Regions from separate parts of the Homo sapiens genome. Here all the other regions are linked to region 1. The links are contacts of gene promoters, found by promoter capture Hi-C in blood cells and fetal thymus (Javierre and others, 2016). All regions are on one chromosome and are shown on one strand. The core of a region is centred on a gene start or on the middle of the fragment in contact, and the rest is flanking DNA. Distances in the headings are between cores, read along the strand shown.

Region 1 (2,528 bases), core at 12-2,511:
CAGACGGGTCTCAGCATCAGCACGTACGGCTGCCAACTCTTGGACATACTTCTCCCGGGCCTGGTCCAACTCCACTTCCAGAAACTGCCGGCCAAGGTTGGCCCGCTCACCCAGCCCCCGGTTCTCCTCTGCCAGCAGGCCATGCGCCTTCTTCAGCATGCTCAGCTGCTCTGCATAGCTGGCCTTCTCTGCCCGCAGCTGCTGAGCTGTTCGCTCCTGCTCTGCCACCTTCTGCCGCAGAGGAATCAGCTCCCCAAGCTCCCGCTGGGCCCGCAGCAGCTCTGCCCGCAGTCCCCCAGCGGCCTGCTTGCTCTGCTCCAGCTCCTCACGGTGGCGTTTCTCGGCAGCGGCCTGCTCGGCCTGCAGCTGCTGGCAGAGGTGCTTAGCTGGCAGCAGCTCACTCACCAGGGCCTGTGTGCTGGTGTGCTCGAGCTGCAGGGTGGAGAGGGCCTGCTCTTTCTGGAAGAACTTCTCCTGCCACGCCTTCAATTCTTGGCCCAGCTCCTCCGCACGCTCAGCCTGTGAGGTCAGCTCCTGCCGCAGGTTCTCTGAAGCCACCCGCTGTTTCTCAGCCTCCTCCCGGAGGCTCTGCACCTCCTCCCGCAGAGCAGAGCTGCGTTCTGCAGCTCTGGCACTGTTGCTGGCTGTCTCTGCCTGCAGCAGGCGCAGCCTCTCCTCCAGCTTCTGGCTCTTCTCTGACTCGGCCATCACCAGCCGCTTCAACTCCTTGCTCTCCCCCTCCTTCTCCAGGACCTGGCGATTCAGGATGGACACCTCCTCCTCCAAGCTGCTGATGAGGCTATTTTTCCTCTCAGCCTCTTGCCGGCCCCGGGCCACCTGGGCCTTCCACTCATCTTCAGCCTTGCTGTGGTCTTGTACCTTGGTGCGGAAGGCAGCCAACTCCCGTTGGGCCGAGGCTAAGGCACTCTGACTGTGCCCTAGCTCCTGGGCCTTCTCCTCTAACTGGCCCTGCAGAGTCTCCAGAGCACTGTCCCGCTCAGCCCGGGAGGCCCGCTCAGCCTCGAGGCTGCGTTCCAGGCTGTCAGCCTGCTCCTGCTGCTTCTGGCATTGCTGTTCCAGCTTGCTCACCTCTGCCCGCAGTGCCTCCAGCTTGGGGCCTGTTGGCTCTGTCCTGCCAGCAGCCTCAGATTGGGCTCCTGAGCCAGATGCGTGCTCCTTTTCTTTCTTAGCCAGCTGTTCCTTCAGTTGCTTCACGGTTTGCCGAAGTTCCTCCAGCTCTTTTATCTGGGCTGCCTCCAGACCACGAAGCTTGGCCAACTCCTGGTCCTTGCCTTCCTTTTCCGTCAGGGCATGAGCCAGTGCCTCTTGCAGGGTAGCGAACTCCACACGCTGCTCGTTGAGGGCGTTCTGCAGCCGCATCTCAAGCTCTGCTCTGGCCGCCTTCTCCAGGGCAAGGTCAGCCTGGGCACGGCCCCGCTCCTGGGTCAGCCGCGCCACCTCCCTTTCCTGCTGCCCACGCTCCTCCTGCTGCTGCCCCTGGCTCTCCATCAGCGCGGCCCGCAGCCGTTCCAGCTCATTGCCCATCTGCTCTGCCTCCCGCTCCATAGCCTGCAGCGCTGCCTGTGTGCTGCAGAACTGGCGTCCCTGTTGCTCTTCCAGCCACTCGGGCTGTCTGTCTCCTGCCCTCGCAGGCTCCTTGACTAACTCCCGGGAGGCTGTTTCCTGCTGCTCACCTGCCTTGCGCACCAAGGTCTCCAAGCGGGCCACCTCTTTGCTGGTGGCAGCCATCTTTTCCTGCAGAGTGGAGAGGTCATCTGCAAGCTTCTGGGCCCTGACTTCCTTCTCTTGGACCTGCTGGAGTGCTCTGGCCAGGTTGGCATGGAGCTCAGCTAGTTCGTTCTGCTGCCGGCTTATCTGGAGCTCGCTGTGGGATTCTATGCCTGCCACCTTCTCCTTTGCCTCCTGCAGCTCCTGGCGGGCCTTCTCACATTCCTCCTTCAAAGTCATCAGCTGTTCCTGGAACATGGCGCCATACTGTGCCTCCTCTTGCTGGCTATCCTCATACCGCTCACGCCAGGCAGCTACTTCTTTGACGAGCTGCTCACACTCACTCTCAGCTGTGTGCTGGGCAGCCATGGCCTCTGCCAGCTCCCGCCGCAGGACTTCAGTCTCAGCCTGATGGGCCTCCCCAAGCTGCTGTAATCGAGCCTCCAGCCCCTTGCGCCCAGCCCTCTCTTCTTCCAGCTCCTTTCGTTCCCGCTTATGCTGCTCCACCAGGCTTCGGGTCTCTGCCTTCAGCTCAGAGATACAACGCTGCTGCTCTTCCAGGGCATCTGCAGCCCTGCGCTTCTCCTCTTCAAGGCTGCCCTTGGTGACCTTCAAGGACTCTTTGAGGGCCTGGAGCTGCTCCTGGAGCTGGTCCTTCTCCTGGGCCACCCTTTCTTTCTCAGTTGCTTTTTGCTGCTCAGACCGCAGCTGCAACTCTAGCTCTGCAACCTGGGCCTGGGCCTCATGCTGTTCCTGGCGGGCTGTCTCAACACAGGCCTGGAGTTCCTCCACCTTCCGGC
Region 2 (2,528 bases), core at 14-2,513, 56 kb before region 1:
GATTTTTGAGCAAGTTACTTAACTTCTCACAACCTTACTTTGCCCCATTTGTAAAATGAGGATCATAACAATATCTATACCTCATAGAGTTGTGAGGATTAATATATGTGAAAATCTTAGAAGAGTGCCTGGCATGTGGTAAGCTTACAGTAAGTGTTAACTGCTTTGAAGATGATTATCATTAACATCATCATTATTATCCATGATACAGGATGGGGAGCTCTGGTTAAGAAAATGGGAGATGTATCTTCTGTTCTCAACTCTGCAACTAACTTGTTTTGTAAATAGAATGAGCCATCATATATCTTATGATGATTGCTCATCAGTAAAAGGGTTTCAGAGTGCCTGCCCCACGAACTTCACAAGGTGACTGACCAATGAGGTGATATCAACCTTAGAATTTAATAGTGAGAAAAAACCTATTGATTTTATTTAGATTAAAACTATTGACTATAAAAACATAGAATGGCAAAAATACCTGTTCACATGACAAACCCAGTGTGATTTTAGGTGATTTTAAGCTTAGTATGAACCAGTTGTGTACCTCAGCTACCAAAATATTCTGAATAATTTAAAAGATGTTCGTAGAAATATGCTGTCTGCTGTAAGAGAGGTGATAGTGCCACTGTGGTCTGCTCTGCTGAGGTCACAAATATTTTGTTCTAAGCATGGCATATTAAAAAGATCTTTAACTGGATCATGTGTAGAAGAAGGCAACCTGGATTAATAGTCTTCATATCATGTTATATGAACAGTGGTTAAAAGATCTAGAACTGTTAGCCTCAAAGGGCACAGGAAAATAGTGGTAGGAACAGGATGGTTTTGTTTTGTTTGAATAACATCATGATAAATCTTTGAAGGGGTGGCATTGGGAAAGAAGAGTCAATATGTCCTTTGTTGTTATGGAGTATCGGATTAGGTCTAATGGACTGAAGCTATAAGAAGATAGATTTTTTTTTTGTCTCATTGTCAGAACTGTCTTTAATAGTCAAGGTATATTGAGAGGTAATGAGCTTTCTGTCCCTAAAACATTGGGATTTTATTCATTTATAAGCAAATATTAGTACCTGCCCAGGTGTGGTAGCTCCCACCTGTAATCCCAGCACTTTGGGAGGCCAAGGTAGGAGGATCCCTTGAGCCCAGCAGTTCGAGGCTGCAGTTCATCTAGCCTGGATGACAGAGCGAGACTCTCTCCAAAAAAATAATATATGTATATGTACCTACAATGTGCCAGACACTGCTGGTTCTAAAATAGATTACCTTAAAAGGCATGTGTTCTCAGCCAGTGGAAGTATTCAAGCAAAGATTGCAAAAATGATTTTTGCATTGGGTGGGAACTTGAACTGGATGACTTCTCTGGTCTTTTCTAGATCATTCTTTGACTTCATTTTGTGCACATCCGTTCACTGATATGTTGTCTGAGAACAAGAAACTTATCTCTTGCTATCTTTATAACTCCTCATAGCCCTTAGGTGTTTTTAAGTGTGCTCTACCCTCTTAGCCTATTCTCACAACAACTCTTGAGTCAGGCAGAAAAAATATGGACTCCTTTTGACAGATGAAGAAATTGTGATATACAGATGTGAGGTTAATTGGCCATGGCCATATAGGTGGGTCTGAATCTAAGTTTCGAACTCCCAATCCTATTCTCTTTCTGTCAGATTCTCCCACCCAGGGTAAAGTTTTATGTCAGATGAACCCTTAGGTGCTGAGGCTTACTGACTGGCATTTGGCTTCCCACTCTGCCCACCAAGTTTTCCCCCCTTACATTTTGTTATGAAAAACTTTAAACACATAGAAAAGTTGAAAGAATTGTACAGTGAACACCTTTATACTTACCACCTGGGTTCTACACTTTTTGTTATATTTGCTTTATTGTTTATAATTCATCCTTCTGGGTTATTTTTGCTGTTAATGTTTAATTGCCCATGGAAATTCCATGAAGACACTATTTATGTTGTCCTTTTCCTCCCTCCTAAATACCCTGGTGTAATGGGAATTGTATAAAAGCTTATGACTCAAGTTACATTTGTATTTGATTTTATTATTTATTTAAATTTGCCCTTTCCCACACATTCTGATGTATTTGATTTTCTCTCTAATTCCTTCTCTTCTCTCTCTCTTCTTCTTTTTTTTTTTTTTTTGAGATGGAATCTCATTCTGTCGCCCAGGACGGAGTGCAGTGTTGCGATCTTGGCTGACTGCAACCTCCACCTCCCAGGTTCAAGTGATTCTCCTGCCTCAGCCTCCTGAGTAGCTGGGATCACAGGCATGCACCACCACACCCGGCTAATTTTTGTATTTTTAGTAGAGACGGGGTTTCGCCATGTTGGCCAGGCTCATCGTTAACTCCTGACCTCACGTGATCCTCCGGCCTCAGCCTCTCAAAGTGCTGGGATTACAGGTGTGAGCCACCGCGCCCGGCCTCTAATTCCTTTCTCATTCCTCTCCTTTGGATGACTGTGACCCAGAGTGGTAGGAGTGACTGTTCTTAGAACAAGTTTTTAGCCAGTATTAGCCAAGGGAAT
Region 3 (2,528 bases), core at 12-2,511, 45 kb after region 1:
CTAACTCATACTTTTAAAAAGCTACATAAAAGTCCATATAAGGGATATCCATAACGTGTTCACATATTTTTCTATTGAGGGAATGGCTATTTTCAGTGTTACCATTTCAAACAATGCTGTAATGAGTATCCTTGACGTATTTCAAGTTAAAGAAAAAAAACTATTTCTACACACATACTTTCCTTGTTGTCCCATGTTTTGATTACTCCTGGTCTCATCATCATCCCTACCTCCCTTGCTCAGAGAATCATCCTCAGGGTCCAGTGTGATGACAGAGAGCAAAGTAACTTGGAGAATGTCAAGACAAGACATGTGATAGTTACTGTTGGTAAATTGGAAATGGCCTGTCTTGGCTGCCTCTCTCAGTCACTTGCACATGCTATCCCCCTCCTCCCCTTACATGTGCTCCCTGTTCTGGTCTCAGCAGCTGCTTCCAACTCAACTGATGTGAGCACAGCTAGCTACCTTGTCACACTCCTAATCCTGGCAAGTGCAGACAGGCCCAGGAGCTCTCCAAACAATTGGAAAGGAGAAGGAATACATTATCACTGTGAAATAATATAATACGGAGGTATCTAGAGTAAAATGTAAAACTCCCTCTTCATTAAGCCTCAACCCACATTTGCCAGTGACACTCCCCAGCTCAGAAGTGACCACTGTTAGAAGTCTGTTGTACAACCTTTTGGATTTTTCCTAAGCATGTACACATACAGGTATATATTCACATACAGGTATGTGTGTTTGGTCTACATATCTGTAATCATACCATATAATATGTTCTGCAACTTGCCCTTTTCATGTAAAAATTTATTTGACATGTTTCCATACCAGCAAAAAACAGATTCCTCACATTTTTAATTAATTTTTTTTGAGACAAAGTCTCACTCTGTCACCCAGGCTGGAGTGCAGTGGCACCATCATGGCTCACTGCAACCTCAACCACCTGGGCTCAGGTGATCCTCCCACCTCAGCCTCCTGGTAGCTGGGACTAAAGGTGCGCACCACCATACCCAGCTAATTTATTTGTAGAGATGGGATTTCACCATGTTGCCCAAACTGTTCTCAAACTCCTAGGCTCAAACAATCCGCCCACCTTGTCCTCCCAAAGTGCTGGGATTACAGGTGTGAGCTATCATGGCTGGCAATTCCTTAAACTTTTAAAAGCTTGAAAAAATCCTATGTAAGAATGTGCCACAACTTTATTTTCCCATTTTGCTACATCTGGACATTTAGGTTGTTCACAGTGTTTTGCATGTCAAAGAATGCTGTATTGATAACACTGGCAGCACATCTCTAATTTTACACACAAGCTAATATTTCTCTAGGATATATACCAATAATTAGAATTAATGGGTTGAAAAGCTTGTGTATTTTAAATGTCAACAGATATTCCCAAATTACCATCTAAAACTGTGTACTAGTTTATAGTCTCACCAACAGAGGATAAAAATTCCCATCTACACCCTTCTACCAATATATTTTATCAATATATAAGATAGAATATATTATTGTTTTAATTTATATCTTATTTCCAGAAAAGTTAAACATCTCCTCACATATGCAACTGTTCATTCTTATTTCTTATGAAAGGTATTACCATTTTGATTTTAAACATGAGGGTTCAGAGATGCTAGAGTGACACAACCAGTAAGTCCAGACATCAAAGCTGTTTTTTTAACAATTTCCCATCAAAACTAGGCCTCTTTCTGTCAAGTGTAATTCCCCCTACCAGCAGCCAGCAAACTATGGCCTATAAGTTAGCAGCCCATATTTTGTAAATCAGGTTTTACTAAAACGTAGCCACGCCCATTCATTTAAGTATTGTCTATGGCTGCTTTTGTTCTCCAATGGCAGAGGTGAGTAGTTACAACCACATGGTCTGCAAAGCCTAAAATATTTACTACTGGGGTCTAAACAGAAACAATAACTTGCCTAAGCACAGTGACTCACACCTGTAATCCCAGTGCTTTGGGAGGCTGAAGGTGGTGGACTGCTTGCTGTTTGAGCCCAGGAGTTCGAGACCAACCTGGGCAACATGGCGAGATTCCATCTCTACAAAAATTAGAAAAATAGCCAGTTGTGGTGGCATGCACCTGTAATCCCAGATACTCAGGAGGCTGAGGTGGGAGGACTGCTTGAGCCTGGGAGGCCAAGGCCGTGGTGAACTGCCATTGTGCCACCACATTCCAGCCTGGAAGACAGAGTGAGACTCCATGTCGAAAAAACAAAACGCACACACACAAAAAAAACAAGAGTTAAAAACTAAAGAAAAGCTCAGGTCTGGGCACAGTGGCTCATGCCTGCAATCCCAGTACTTAGGAAGGCTTAGCGAGACCCCATCTCTACAAAAAATAAAAAAAATTAGGCTAGGCACGGTAGCCCACACCTGTAATCCCAGCATTTTGGGAGGCCGAGGCGGGCGGATCACGAGGTCAGGAGAATCGAGACTGTCCTGGCCAACATGGTGAAACCCCATCTCTACTAAAAATACAAAAATTAGCTGGCCGTGGTGGCGTGTGCCTGTAATC
Region 4 (2,528 bases), core at 12-2,511, 38 kb before region 1:
CTCAGGTACTTTCTCAACCTCCTCTTAAGTCTCTTCATCATCTTGCCTCCCCAGCCTCTCCAGATTTCCCCACAAACTCAGTGAATGATGATTGGTAGGCAGCTTAAGAGACAGAAAATCTGGATTGGAAACCTAGCCCAAACCAGACTTGCCTTTTGGCTTCTGCGTAGCTCAGTTTTCATCATCTATTCAGAGTCTAACATTACTCTTTAGCTCCTTCAGGGATGTTAGGGGAAGGGATAAGTTTATGCCTGGAAAAGTATCCATCCTATTTTTGAAGTTCTCCAGGGAGAAGCTTTCATCATCTGTGTCTACTACCAAATATAGTATCTCTTCACATCTCTACCTCCTGAACTGCTTTCCCTCCTGGAACCGGTGAGTGGCAAAATCTCCTACCTGGAAATCTTTAAAGTACTGTAGATTTTTCTTAGACCAAGATATTAGGATTACTAGAATGTGGAATTAGAGAATTCTGACTAAGGTGGTAAGGGGTTGTAATTCACTTTCTATGAGAAGGAAAAACTTCTATCTTCAGAATATAACAAAAACTTGTAGCTGTGGTATCTTTATCAGCCTCCTTTGAGTCTCATCTACCTCTTTAGGCTCATTTCTCACACCTTCCTCAAATACTAGTTGTCTTTTCTCAAGTATACCATGTCCCCTCATCCTGGAACACCCATCATGATGCCTTTTTCTATCTGGACCTATTGGCCATCAAGACAGAGATCAAAGGATGCTTCCTTCAGGCAGCCTTCCTTGGAGGGGGGTGGGTTCTCCACTTTGAGTGGAGTGCCTCTCCTCTGTATTTTCTTGGTCACCAGCCCTTACTCCATTAAAGCACTTAATTGTGGTTATTTGTTTCTCCTCAGTAGACTTGTGTTCTTCAGGAGATTTTGGTTTTCATCTCTGAATTCCCCAGTCATTAGCATGGCATCCAGTAAGTGCTCAGTAAATGTTTATTAAATGACTGCTTGACTGACTCGTTTGCTTGAAGTGGAAAAGATGGGAAAGAAGACATAGTTCTAGGTATTAGAAGAGTAGTCATAAGAAACATGGAGTAAGTTTACTTTGTGCTCCTCTGAAAGATAAGAGTTGGACCCAGAGACAGAAGTGACACAAAGGCAGATTTTTCAGGTCAGCATCAGGAAAGAGCTGTCTAGCAAATATATTCGTATTGGAGTGGCCTGACTTATGTGGTAAGGATTACTATGTGTAGGTGTGATAGGAGGGAAACAACTCCAACCGTGTTTCTGCCTTGTAGAGTGTCCAGTAATGTGTAGTGTCTCACTAGGTCATAGAAACTACACTGAATATGTCTGTTTATTGGGCCTCTGGATGACTCTTCAGATATCATTTATCTGAAGCCTTCTTGTAGTCTTCTCCAGGCTTAATATCCTGGTGTCTTCAGTTGTTCCTTATGTGATTTGGTTTCCAGGCCTTTTATTATAATCCTAGCTGCTCTCTTATGGCCTGCTGTCTTATGGCCATGCTTATTTGTTAGTGTTCTTTGTATAGTGTGGCCCCAAGCCCTGATCCTAGGGTCCCAGAGATACTTTAACAGAGCAGAGAACAGTAGACCTGCTGCCCCCTCCATTCTGGGTATATTCTTTTTTTTTTTTTTTTTTTTTTTTTTTTGAGATGGAGTCTCGCTGTGTCGCCCGGGCTGGAGTGCAGTGGCACAATCTCGGCTCACGGCAACCTCCGCCTCCCGGGTTCAAGCGATTCTCCTGCCTCAGCTTCCCGAGTAGCTGGGACTGCAGGTGTGCGCCACTATGCCCAGCTAATTTTTGTATTTTTAGTAGAGACGGGGTTTTACCATGTTGGTTGGCCAGTATGGTCTCGATCTCTTGACCTCGTGATCTGCCTGCCTCGGCCTCCCAAAGTGCTGGGGTTACAGGCGTGAGCCACGGCACCTGGCCCATTCTGGGTATATTCTTAGTTAAGCAGGGTTGTCTTGGCTGTGTTGGCAGCAGCCCTGTTGGCATATATTCCCTGGCAATTTGTGGTCAACTGAAACCCCTAAGCCTGTTTCATGTGAGCTACTATTAAGCCATTCCTTCCCCATTCTATACTTTGGTAGTTAGGTTTCATTTTGTGGTTTTGATTCTTCATTTCAGCTTATTAGCTCATGGAATGTTAGGGCTAAAAGAACCCTAGAAATAAACTTTTTTCATTTTGATCTTATTTCTTCTATTTTCCATGTTCACTGCCTCCCTTTCCCTCCCCACAAGCTTTGTGCTGTCCACAGTTGGGAGGTTCTTTGTGTTTTCTTCCAAATCATTTATGAAAATATTGAGCAGAGCCATGGAGCATGTCCCAGAAACCTACCTCCAGTTGACTGCAGTCTATTTCTCAGCCTATTTTCAAGCTGATTGTTCTATTAGCTGTGGATCTCTACCTTTATTCTACTACTTGGGCTTATAGTTTCATTTCATCCACTATATTGCTTTTCAGCCAGGTATGGTGGGAGGGTGATCCCTAGCTTACAACATGAGGGGATGCAGAGGTGGTAAGATGAGAATCCTGAA

The links. The method cuts DNA at HindIII sites, captures the fragments that hold promoters and counts their contacts. A CHiCAGO score of 5 or more calls a contact.
Region 2: a contact is called between a fragment that was not itself captured here and the fragment with the promoter of NUMA1-AS1 in region 1, in 2 of 17 cell types (M2 macrophages and M1 macrophages). The highest score is 5.3, in M2 macrophages.
Region 3: a fragment that was not itself captured here is called in contact with the fragment with the promoter of NUMA1-AS1 in region 1 in 1 of 17 cell types (M1 macrophages); the score reaches 5.1 in M1 macrophages.
Region 4: a fragment that was not itself captured here is called in contact with the fragment with the promoter of NUMA1-AS1 in region 1 in 4 of 17 cell types (M0 macrophages, M2 macrophages, M1 macrophages and 1 more); the score reaches 8.6 in M0 macrophages.

Annotation. Positions count from the first base shown.
Region 1 is chr11:72,013,030-72,015,557 of GRCh38, forward strand. It overlaps NUMA1-AS1 (NUMA1 antisense RNA 1), which reads left to right and starts at 1,262. Exons shown (of 4, transcript NR_104178.2): 1 at 1,262-2,528. It overlaps NUMA1 (nuclear mitotic apparatus protein 1), which reads right to left. Exons shown (of 27, transcript NM_006185.4): 15 at 1-2,528. RefSeq lists an enhancer at 1,916-2,528. The HindIII fragment of the contact is 6,447 bases long and covers 1-1,267 here.
Region 2 is chr11:71,957,510-71,960,037 of GRCh38, forward strand. All of the region lies in intron 2 of RNF121 (ring finger protein 121), which reads left to right. Among named protein-coding and RNA genes, the nearest start is that of RNF121, 30 kb to the left of the region's middle. The HindIII fragment of the contact is 1,489 bases long and covers 520-2,008 here.
Region 3 is chr11:72,058,425-72,060,952 of GRCh38, forward strand. All of the region lies in intron 2 of NUMA1 (nuclear mitotic apparatus protein 1), which reads right to left. Among named protein-coding and RNA genes, the nearest start is that of MIR3165, 13 kb to the right of the region's middle. The HindIII fragment of the contact is 198 bases long and covers 1,163-1,360 here.
Region 4 is chr11:71,974,739-71,977,266 of GRCh38, forward strand. The region is part of intron 3 of RNF121 (ring finger protein 121); the gene reads left to right. Among named protein-coding and RNA genes, the nearest start is that of IL18BP, 23 kb to the right of the region's middle. The HindIII fragment of the contact is 1,936 bases long and covers 294-2,229 here.